3 separate regions of the Homo sapiens genome follow, and regions 1 and 2 are each linked to region 3. The links are contacts of gene promoters, found by promoter capture Hi-C in blood cells and fetal thymus (Javierre and others, 2016). All regions are on one chromosome and are shown on one strand. The core of a region is centred on a gene start or on the middle of the fragment in contact, and the rest is flanking DNA. Distances in the headings are between cores, read along the strand shown.

Region 1 (3,829 bases), core at 166-2,665, 1.1 Mb after region 3:
CCGCAACCTTGGCCTCCCAGGTTCAAGCGATTCTCCTGCCTCAGCCTCCTGAGTAGCTGGGATTACAGGCGCCCACCACCACGCCTGGCTAATTTTTGTATTTTAGTAGAGACGGACTTTCACCATGATGGCCAGGCTGGTCTCAAACTGCTGACCTCGTAATCCACCTGCCTCAGCATCCCAAAGTGCTGGGATTACAGGTGTAAGCTACAGCACTCAGCCTTAAACACTTCTCTTGTAGAAGTTTTCTATAAATATCTCAACATCCCTATCAACTACATTCAAAAAAAAAAAAAAGAGAAGCTGGAGCCTCTCTGTCAAATGCAAAACCGAGGCCCTTCTATGTCTTCCCTTCTATGTTCTAGCCATAGCTAACTACCTTAGTGCAGCTTGTGGTATAAAAGACGCTGGATAGCTTCATAATTAGAAAACTTTATAAAGTGCACGTTTCTCAACACAAGTCCATTACTAATCATCCTCTCCTCTATATACTGTATATATCTCTATGGTCTACGTTCTGTTTTTCATCAATAAATAAACCAAATATTCAAAGCCAAATATTTAGAATTATATCTTTCACTTTTGTTATCATGACTGGAAAATATGCTTGCCCTTAAAGGTTTATGCCATTTGCCCATTAAAAAAAGAAAAAAAGAAGTTATTATTACCAATTAAAAAAAAAAAACCCTGGCCAGGCGCAGTGGCTCACAGCTGTAATCCCAGCACTTTGGGAGGCCGAGGTGGGCAGATCACCTGACGTCAGGAGTTTTGAGACCAGCTGGGCCAACATGGTAAAACCCCATCTCTACTAAAAATAAAAAATTAGCCGGGTGTGGTGGCACGTGCCTTTAGTCCCAGCTACTTGGGAGGCTGAGGCAGGAGAATCGCTTGAACCCACCTGGGAGGCAGAGGTTGAAGTGAGCCAAGATCACGCCACTGCACTCCAGCCTGGACAAGAGAGTGAGACTCTGTCTCAAAAAAAAAACAAAACAAAAAAAAAACAACCCACTAACAAAAACCCAGGCCATTCAGATACTCAGATACATGCATGTATTATAGCACTGACCAAAAAATTATGAAACAAATCCCCTCCCAATGACTTTATTTCATTAAATTATTTTATACCAATGTGACTAAAAGCAACAGATCATAAAATTCTGATCCAGGTTTCAATTCCATCCGTGATAAACATTTACTCAGCACCTAGTATATACCAGGCAATGAGTTAGGTACTTGACTTATATTAGCCTTCAAAGTCGGCCAGGCATGGTGGCTCATGCCTGTAATTCCAACACTGGGGGGCCAAACCGGAAGGATCACTTGAGCTCAGGAGTTCAGGACCAGCCTGGGCAAAATAATAAGACCTCGTCTCTACAAAAAAATTTTAAAAATTAGCAGAGCATGGTGGCACATGCCTGTAGTCCCAGCTACTCAGGAGGATGAGGTGGGAGGATGGCTTGAGTCCAGAAGGTTGAGGCTGCAGTGAACCGTGATCGCACCACTGCACTTCCAGCCTGGGCAACAGAGCAAAGACCTTGTCTCCAAAACATAGCAAAACAAACTATGAAAACCCATGTGGCCCATGGAAAATCATGAGACAGCACTTCCACTTTCAGGAATTTGTCCTAAGAATATACTCGAATGTGTAAAATGATATATGTATAATCACTCCACTGCACTCCAGCCTGAGTGACAGAGTGAGACTCCATCTCTAACAACAACAAAAACAAAACAAAAACAAAAAAAAAAACCCACAAAGTTGAAATCGTATCATCATTTCTCTGAATACTTCCAACGGAGTTCAAACTTACTCTCTTCCCAGCTATCAAGCTCTGAAAAATATTGCCCATCTAATATATTTTACCTCATGCAAGAATGGCAATTCATCTCTTGCTTTGTGGTACTCAGCCACACACTCCAAGCAGTAGCAGAGGTCTTCGTCGGCTGTTTGAAATTCACCGGACGGAGTGTTGGAAGCATAGCGCTTTAGGAAGTCAATGGTGGAAGCACCACCTGGCGTACACCAACAACATGTGCTCATTCTGTACCTACAGCCAGAAAAGATGACATCAAGAAGAAAACCAACTTCAGACCTACTGTGTGTCAAGAATAGGTACACTTTCAACTTGTGACCCTGGTTTCAATTTAAAATGTGTCACTAAAACCCAAATCTTCTGCTGGCTGGCTTATCAATCACTGATTCACTAAACTAAAAAAATCCTTCTATTTTTGACATACGAAAAATACAGAAAAATAAAAGCATTGTATAAGGAATAAGTATCATAAGGCAACATAAAGTTGTGCTACAGAGAAGGCTCAAAACAACACAGTACCGATAGAAAATATATAGAGACCCAGACTTACCAATATTTTCAAAGTACAGATTTTGGAATGGGGAAAAAAGTTACCAACTACAAACTTAAGTTCATTTCATAAACTGAATGGACCTAGCTCAGCATTCTCATCAGGAGTGATGTCACCCTCAAAGAGATCTAAAACTAGTTAGTGGGACGTGAAAAAGCCCTCCTCTTTTTAGATATAAAGCTCAGATAAACATACAGTACATAAAGAGAGACACAATATATTGGTGGTAATAAAATTCACAGGAGAGGCAGTTTTTAAAAATGTTTAAAAACTCTCCACTCAGGGAGAAAGGTTAGAAGGAGGTTAAAAAACCTAAGTAAGCTGGGAACGGTGGCTCATGCCTGTAAGCCCAGCACTTTGGGAGGCCGACGTGGGCAGACTGCTTGAGGTCCGCAGTTCGAGACCAGCCTGGCCAACATGGTGAAACCCCATCTCTACTAAAAAGAATACAAAAATTAGCTGGTGGTGCGCATCTGCAATCCTAGCTGCTTGGGAGGCTGAGGCAGGAGTACTGCCTGAACGTGGGAGGCAGAGGTTGCAGTGAGCCAAGATTGCGCCACTGCACTCCAGCCTGGGTGACAGAGTGAAACTCTGTCTCAAAACAAACAAACAAAAGAAACCTAAGTGAAGACACTGAGTATGTGGGAATGGAAACATGGCAGTGTGAGATTTTTGAGTATCACCGTCACCCTAAAATTCAGAATACATAATCTTTACCAACAGGAAATATAAAACATCTCAACAGAAACTAGGCTTGGCTGCTGAGGCTTCTGTGGCATAAAGCTAGTTCCTAAAATAAAGTGATTTTTTAAAATTCTTTAATTTCTTCTTATACCCACAATTAAATAATTATTTAGAAATGCATAAGCATAATCAAATACATTGTCATATGAATTGATTTTTTAAAATTTATTAAATATTACTTTTACTTATGCTTTTGAAGAGGTATACTTTCTTCATGGTTCTAAAAAGAATTTAGGGTAGCTTTCAACATTAAAGTACATACACACAAAAGGACATTTAAAAATGAGATTTCAAAAAACAAAATCAAAACTTCTTTAGAAGAAATTTAATTTCACTAAGTTCTACATGAGGAGCTTCCTGAAAGCAGAGAAAAAGGATAACATGAGTTACACAGTTCTCATCGACGTGGGGGGGAAAAAGAGTATGCAGTGATAGCCGCAGAGTACCGCCCTTTCCTGACACAAACTCTAACTCAATTACATTTTATTAATGCCTTCTAGTACAAGGGCACTGCAGACTAGGAAATGCCAAGTAACATGGGATAAGGTCTTCAATGTATTTCTGCAGAATTTAAAATTATTTTATTCAAAAGAAGAATTACTTATACCTAAGAGGCCAACATCACACTACTAGTAAGTTAACAGCTTGCAGAAGCTGTTTTTTTTTCCGGTAACCTAGTTTAATATGGAAAGTGAACTTAGAAGACGTAAGAACAGAAAGT
Region 2 (3,750 bases), core at 1,114-3,613, 1.1 Mb after region 3:
ATCAGTTACCCCCTACCTGGATTTTGTGGGGCCCTTTTATTTATTTTTATTTAATTTATTTTCTTGAGACAGGGTCTCACTCTGTCACCCAGGCTGGAATGCAGTGGCGTGATCTCGGGTCACTGCAACTTCTGGCTCCCAGGCTCAAGCGATCCTCCCACTTCAGCCTCCAGAGTAGCTGGGACAACAGGCATGTGTCACCACGTGCAGCTTAATAATCAGTTTTTAAACATGTAATTTTATTTAAAACCATAAAAACCCATTTTAGTTTTAAAAATCATGTGATCTGAAGAAATGTCACAAAGCATACACAAATTTAATGGAAAAGCTGAATTTTTTTTTTTTTTGAGATGGAGTCTGGCTCTGTGGCCCAGGCTGGAGTGCAGTGACGCAATCTCGGCTCACTGCAACCTCCTCCTCCTGGGTTCAAGCAATTCTGCCTCAGCCTCCCCAGTAGCTGGGATTACAGGTACCTGCTACCACGCCCAGCTAATTTTTGTATTTTAGTAGAGATGGGGTTTCACCATGTTGGGCAGGTTGGTCTCAAACTCCTGACCTCAAGCAATCCACCCGCCTTGGCCTCCCAAAGTGCTGGGATTACAGGCGTGAATCACCACGCCCGGCCGAAAAGTTGAATTTTTAAAAAGTGGTTTGACATTATAAAGGGCTTTGTCAATGTAAGTCGTTCTCAAGATGGGAGCTGGTGGGGTGCACATCAGCGTCACCTCCTTCAAAGCACCTGGCACCCTCCCTGCTTGGGGCCTATGATGCTGAAGAGTGGGCACCCTGCCCCTCAGATGAGCTAGAAAAGAAAAGACTTTGGGACCACGGCATGTATCTGTGAGTCCTGGCAGGGCCTGGACTAAGAATTTCCAATTCTCCACATTCAAGAAGGAAGAGACGGATTGTCCTTTCTTGTTTGGTTATAATCCCAAACCATAAATAACTAACCACCAGAACCAGTTTAAACCCTCCCTAATGGTTCCGCAGAATATTGACTAGAAACAAAACAAAATCTTTCCTAATGGACCAATGGCGACCTCACACCAGTAGCCACACTTCTGGAAGTCAGCCAGGCTGCAGCAGCCTCACCCCACTGTCTACCTTCCAAAACCAAAGGCCAAACAATCCCTCAACATCCCTGCATCTGAAAGTCACTGATCCCCGAGCCCCATGATGCTCGGCAACACGTAGAGGGCCTGTGCTCTGCAGCCCAGCTCTCCCTTGCGTAGCAAGCAGTAAGTTGAGATATCGAGAGTGGTGGGCCCTCCAATCGCAGGAACTGATTAAAATGCAAGAGCTATGTGCAGTGAAGGCTCACAGTGAAGGGAAAGAGAGACAGCTTATAAACACAAGAGCCATGTTCAATCTCACTTCTCACATGAGAAATGCAAATGAAAACCACAAGGAAACTGACAGAAGCTTAAAGAGGAACAGGATCTTTATATAGTCTTAAAATGTCTTCCCACAGCCATTTCTTACCACCAAAGGAAGAACCAGTATTTTTATACAGTGGGGAAAAGAGGCAGATGCTGCCTTAGCTAAATAATAAAAAAAAGTCAAAACGAGAATTATGTACCTTGTGACGTAATGCAGTGATAGCAAACATCAGGAATATGCTGTACTCCTGCCCGAAGGACACAGCCTGAATCTCCTCAAGAGGAAATACCAGACAAGTGCCAACTGCGGACATTCTACAAAACACCTAGCCTGTATTCCTCCAAAATTTCACTACCATCAACAGCAAAGATGGACGATCTTCATAGATTAAAAGACAGTAAGGAAGGCCGGGCATGGTGGCTCACGTCTGTAATCCCAGCACTTTGAGAGGGATTAAGGCCAGGAGTTCAAGCATAGCCTGGGCAACATGGCAAAACCCCATCTCTACTAAAAATACAAAAAAAAAAAAAAAAAAAAAAAGTCAGGTGTGGTGGCTCACGCCTGTAATCTCAGCAATTTGGGAGGCTGAGGTGGGTGGATCACTTGAGGTAAGGAGTTTGAGACCAGCCTGGCCAACATGGTGAAACCTTGTCTCTATTAAAAATACAAAAATTAGCCAGGTATGGTGGCAGGTACCTGTAATCCCAGCTATTCAGAGGCTGAGACAGGAGAACTGCTTGAACCCGGAAGGTGGAGGTTGCAGGGAACCGAGATCACGCTGTTGCACTCCAGCCTGGGCAACAAGAGTGAAAATCCGTCTCAAAAAAAAAAAAATTAACTAATTAAAAAAAAAACTAGCCAGGCAGGGTGGTGCATGCCTCTAATTCCAGCTATTTAGGTGGCTGAGGCACAAGAATTGCTTGAACCTGGGAGGCAGAGGGTGCAGTGAGCTGAGATCACACCATTGTAACTCCAGCCTGGGCAACAGAGTAAGACTCTTGTCTTCAAAAAAAAAAAAAAAAAGGACACTAAGGAAATGGAACAATTATTAAAGGGGGAAAATGCTATCAAGGACATTACTGGGACAACTGGTGAAATCTGAATGTGGACTATGTTTTAGAGGGTGTACTATATCAATGTGAAACTTCCTGATTCTCGATTGTACTATGGTTATGTAAAATAACATCCTTGCTTGGGAAGTGGTATCTGCCACTAACTCTTGAATGGTTATGGGAAAAACCGTATTCCCTTGGAGGAGGGAGAGAGGGATGATAAAGTGAACGTAGCAGAATGTTCAGAAGAGGCGACTATGGGTAAAGGGGATGCGGGGTTCTTTCTGTTACTCTTGCAACTTGTTTAGCTTTTTGAAGCCTTTAAGAGACTTTGCATACATTTCATTTGCCTTTCTTGGGTGTCTTCGGTGGCAGGTGGGCTGGAGGGAGGGCTGGTCTGATTTATTTGGTCCAGAGCACAGAGACTGGAAGTCTCGAATAAACACACACATTGCAGCTTTCCTGTTCTGTGGCGCTGGCACACCACCCTGCAACCACGCAGTGTTTCCTCACCCAAGACTGTATCTTGGCGCTTTCTTTGCCCCACCACCGAGGGGCTTTCTCATGATTTTTTGTAGCTATAAAGAATGTCACTATATGGGTAAAATACATATATAGCCAGTCCCCTATTAACAGGCCTTTTGCAGTCAGTTACTCTGTATACAAGTCATTTCATGTATGTGTGAAGTTGTTTTGTAGAATGTATTTCTAGAAATGGAATTACTAGAATTATTTGAATTTTGAATGGTACTAAGGCTGCAAAGTATGTAAAATTTACCAAAACAGATAACAGTAATTGGAGGGAGTGAATGTAGATGTTTAATAAGGACGGCTGGATTTTGACAGTTGCTGAACTGGGGTGATGGGTACATGAAGCTTCATTTATTTTGTATCTGTCTAAAATTTTCCTAATAAAGTTTCTGAAAAAAATAATTGGGCATTGCTAATAAAGCAGTACTTAGAAGAAAACATATGGCCTTAAATGTATATTACAAAGAAAGAAAAATGGAAAATGAGCTAAGAACCCATCTCAAGAAGTTGAAGAACAGCAGCAAAATAAACTCAAAGAGAGCTGAAGGGAGGGCGTGATAAAGAGCTGACATTAGAATAATCACAAGATAGGGTCAACGCAATCAAAGCTGGTGCTTTGAAAAGACAATCTCTGGTAACTCCTATTCAAGCAGTAACAAAAGAGAGTAGGTATAAATAGCCAACATTAGCCATCAGAACATCACTCAGATCCTGCAGACATTTTGCATAAACCATCTACGGAAAATAGATACTGGTTTCCTGTAGGGCTACGCGTGGCTGGTGAGTG
Region 3 (3,945 bases), core at 1,277-3,776:
CCAACCAGGAAGCCAGGACTGCGACAGGGAGGGCAGGGTTGTCTCAGGTCCCAGTCTCAGGCCTAGCTCCAGCCACATCACCCACACCTACTCAGGGTCACCAGATGGAGAACAAGTCTTAGACAAGACATCGGAAGCCCATGTGCACAGATGGGGAAGCTGAGGCTTGGAGTCTGTACCTTGGGTCAGGCCTGTGGCCTCCCCACCACACGTTGCACCAACCACATTAGCATCCAGTCCCGTGAGTGCTCATGTCTTTCCAAGTTCAGAAGAACCCACTGGCTTCCTTACCCCTTCCAGGGAAGAAACTAGGCTTAGCCCAAAACCCCGAGGAAAACTTTTGTTTCTACAACTGTCCCGATGCCTTCAAAGCCCGAGGAGGTTTCTGGGCTTAAGCGTTCTTAGAAAAGGTCCTCACTGCATAACTAAGAATCATGTTTCCCTGCTTAGAACAGAAAGGCAGCACCCCCTCCCCCGAACTGGATTACTAGCTGCTCTTGAGACACAAAGGGGTTGGCACAGAAATCAGGCTGGTGGAGAGGGCCGGTGAGAGCCTCTAGATGTGCCCCCCATGTACCTCTTTGGGACAGTCACTGTCACACGCTGGACTTAAGGGTTACTGTGATCCTCATGTTTCCTTTAGAACTTTGGAGTCATTAAGTAGAGAAGCCACCAGACTTGGTGTCCCGCCATCCTCCACCCCTCTCATTTACAGGTGGCCCATGAGATTCTTAAATCTGTGATAAGTTCCAGCTCCTGGGGAAATTCTCCTCTTTTCCCCACTTGCAAAACGGGGACGTGAAGCTGCACAGGGTAGACACTGAGAGAGGCTCTGGGAGTGTCAGCGGCCAGTCACGGGGCCACAGGGTAGACACTGAGAGAGGTTCTGGGAGTGTCAGCGGCCAGTCACGGGGCCGCATGGGTGGGCTGCCCGCCGGGGCCTGCCTAGCTCTCTCCAAAGGGTCCTTACGCTCAGAAACAGCTATTTTCACCATCCCTGTCTTAGGGTGAACCTTCAGATTAAGTCACTCTCCCAACTCTGCCTAAATGCAGCTCTTTTCACCCTGGGGACGGCCTTCTCTGGGGTCAGGAAGCAGGCCAGGAAAGGAGCCCCAGGGTCCCAGGGTCCTCACCGGGACCCCCAATACCCTAGGCACACTCTGGAGACCGGGCTTTGGGGCTGCAGAGGAGAGGCTCCTCTTTGCTGTTCCTGTTAGGGCCTCGCCAGAGGGACACTGGACTTGTCTGCATAAAGCGGTCTTCTGCCTTGGAGACAGAAAGCGATACACTGTGAAGAAATCGGGCTTCTAAAACTAACTGTGCTCTCAAACACAGTGCCGTTTGGAACGGGGAAGCACTCCCCCAGCTCCTGGCATACACTGGTAAAAGCCAGAAAGATAATTGAGGCCCAATCGCAAAGCCCTGAACACACCGGTCTGGGAGTTGCAGAGTGCCTGAATGTCTGCCATGGGCCCGCACAGGGCCAGAGGCCTGGAGGGCAGCCCTGCAGCCTCTCTGGTGACCCCTGATGGCACAGACACTCCTCAGGCGGACGGCACACTTGCTCTGCCAGGAAACACTGGGAGTAATGTCTCTCTGCTTTCTCGGCATCTTGCAGGGAAGGACACAGGAACCCGGGGGGAACAGTGGCAGGGTAGATTGCAGGACCGTGACTCCAATCTGGATCCACAGGCAAACTTTTCAGGGAGCCACCGGGCCAATGAGGCCACCTGCATACCTGCCTAAAGCTTCCCTCTGGCCTCCGTCCTGTCTTCATGGTATCTCCACCTTCCCCCTATCCGCGGCCCCCCACCAGGCCTCCAAGCTCGGCCATCCCTAGCAGTTCCCAGAGCTGGCTCTCGGCCGTACTCACATGCCCTGCTCGCCGTACTGGTTGTAGAACTCCATGTGGCTGCACGCCTGGATCCAGCCAACTACCCAAGTCTCCTTCTTGGGGATGGGCGGCATGACCACCTGGGCCGAGGCCCGGAAGTGGGGTGTCCGGTAGCGGAGCACCACGCTGGAGGACTCATCGATGCTAGTGGGGACGGGGTCGATGGAGGCTTTCACATCAATCACCGTGATCCCTTCCCGGAAGACTCTGGCTTTGCCTCCGATGCTCTGAATACAGCCCATGGCATACAGGAGCGCTCTGATCTCCAGGGAAGGCCAGCAGTCACAGAAAAAACCAGGCATTGAAAGGACAGAGGCTGCAGGACCCAGTACAGACGGCGCTGCTCTCCAATCTCAACTCTCAAGACCGATATCCATAGGATAGAAAACTCACTGAGTAGACTGGGGTTGCATATATCACTACCGCGGCCTGTTTATAAATAAGGATTCTGCTGCATTTCATGAGCCCTGGGCTCTCTCTTCTTCTCCTCGCAGTGGACAAAAATCACCGATATTCTTTGGGTTAAAAAAAGTTTGTAGTTTAATGAATAATTATGCGGTTCTGACATCCAGCCCTTCTGTGCCTCACACGCGGGGACGGCAGCTCGCAGACTCTCCCTGAAGTCTTCGGAGGAAGCAGGCGAGCGCCGGCAGACTCATAAATAAGGAAGGCTCTGTCCCCGCGCGGCCGCGCCACCCTCGCGGCAGAAGCCTGACTTCCTGCCCTCCGGCCTTCCGCACGCGCTCCCTCCGGGCCCCGCACCCGCACCCGCCCGGCGCGGTCGAATCAATTGCAGAGCAGTTTGTGTTCACCCGGCCGAGGTCCCGGCGCCCTCGGGGCGAGCGCCGACCCGCGGCTTCCAGGAGGCGAGCTCAGGGCTCCGGCCGCTCGCCGGTGACGGGGGAGCGCGGCGCGGGTCCCCGTCGGCGCCCACTCGCGGGCGCGGGCCGGACGTCCCCACGCAGGGGCGCCGCGTCCCTTCGCCGCTGTCGCTGCCGGCCGCCGTGCAGGGTCCCGGGGCTGCGCTCCGGCCGCCGCCGCCTGCTTCGCCGCGGCCGCCGAGGACCTGGTGGGAGGTGGAAGGGACAGCGCGTCAAGGCCAGCCTCAAAGTTAAGCCGAACTTTGCTGCGGGGGGCGCGCGGGGGCGGCGACGCGTGTGCGCTGGGCGCGGGCTGCGGAGCTGACGGCGCAGCTCTGGGCGGTCTCCCCGGAGGCGGTGGCCCCCGCCCCCCGCGCCCGCCCCGTCAGTGGCGGCCGCACGACCGCGCGCACCAGCGAATAATAGCCGCCCGTGACATCTCCGCTGATACCGTCCCGGACGGGCGGGGTGGGGGGCGAGCGGCTGCCGCTGCAGGGGGCGGCGAGCACTTGCCCTGCTCTGTCCCCACCGCCGCGCCGCCAGCGCCAGGTGCCCCTTCCCCACCCCGGTCCCTCCGGCTCCCTGGGCGCAGGGCCACCCACCAGTGCCGTCGGATCCGGCGGGCACCCCTTTCCCGGCTGGGGTCCCTCGGCCCTCGGAGGGCATAGTGCCCCCGCTCCGCCGCGTCAAGCGCCTCTGTCGCCCCTCTCCAGCCGCGAGCAGCCCCGGGTCCCCACGCGTCGGGCGCGCTCGCCGCTGCCGGGGAACTTTGGCGCGCACGCCCCCACTCGGGCGGCGCCGCCGACTCACCTGCCCCGGGGGCCACTCCGCTGGCCCGGGCAGCCGCTCTCCGGACGCCCCTGACCCGGCCGCGGGCACGTTCTTGGGGCGCCCCCACCCCCTTCCCCGGGCACTGTCCCTTGGCTCTACTGGAGTCTGGGGCCGGCGTGGGCGCCCCCGGCCCCCACCCTCCTCCCGGCTTGGGGCTTCGGGGGGGCGGCCGGGGGCGGAGGGCTGAGGCTCGGGGCTCTCTCGCCCCCACCCCGCGCGCCTCCTTTATTTTATGATCATTGTGAGCGCGCTGTCGCCGCTCAGCCCCGCCGCCGCGCCGCTGCCGCCTGGCGCGCCCCGCGCTGCCTCGCTCTGCTGCAGCATCGGAAAGGCAACCGGGTCAAACTTTGCAGAAACTCG

The links. The method cuts DNA at HindIII sites, captures the fragments that hold promoters and counts their contacts. A CHiCAGO score of 5 or more calls a contact.
Region 1: a fragment that was not itself captured here is called in contact with the fragment with the promoter of FAM78A in region 3 in 1 of 17 cell types (total CD8 T cells); the score reaches 6.2 in total CD8 T cells.
Region 2: a fragment that was not itself captured here is called in contact with the fragment with the promoter of FAM78A in region 3 in 1 of 17 cell types (total B cells); the score reaches 5.9 in total B cells.

Annotation. Positions count from the first base shown.
Region 1 is chr9:132,347,388-132,351,216 of GRCh38, forward strand. It overlaps SETX (senataxin), which reads right to left. Exons shown (of 26, transcript NM_015046.7): 3 at 1,865-2,048. The coding sequence starts at 2,041. Among named protein-coding and RNA genes, the nearest start is that of SETX, 5.7 kb to the right of the region's middle. RefSeq lists an enhancer at 3,806-3,829. The HindIII fragment of the contact is 4,966 bases long and covers 1-3,829 here.
Region 2 is chr9:132,380,865-132,384,614 of GRCh38, forward strand. All of the region lies in intron 9 of TTF1 (transcription termination factor 1), which reads right to left. Among named protein-coding and RNA genes, the nearest start is that of TTF1, 24 kb to the right of the region's middle. RefSeq lists enhancers at 1,397-1,556, 2,974-3,023. The HindIII fragment of the contact is 1,886 bases long and covers 1,421-3,306 here.
Region 3 is chr9:131,273,984-131,277,928 of GRCh38, forward strand. FAM78A (family with sequence similarity 78 member A) reads right to left here and starts at 2,527. Exons shown (of 2, transcript NM_033387.4): 1 at 1,874-2,527. The coding sequence starts at 2,196. RefSeq lists enhancers at 1,007-1,066, 1,242-1,854, 1,267-1,316, 1,347-1,396, 1,557-2,056 and 2 more and a silencer at 2,697-3,876. The HindIII fragment of the contact is 5,571 bases long and covers 1,747-3,945 here.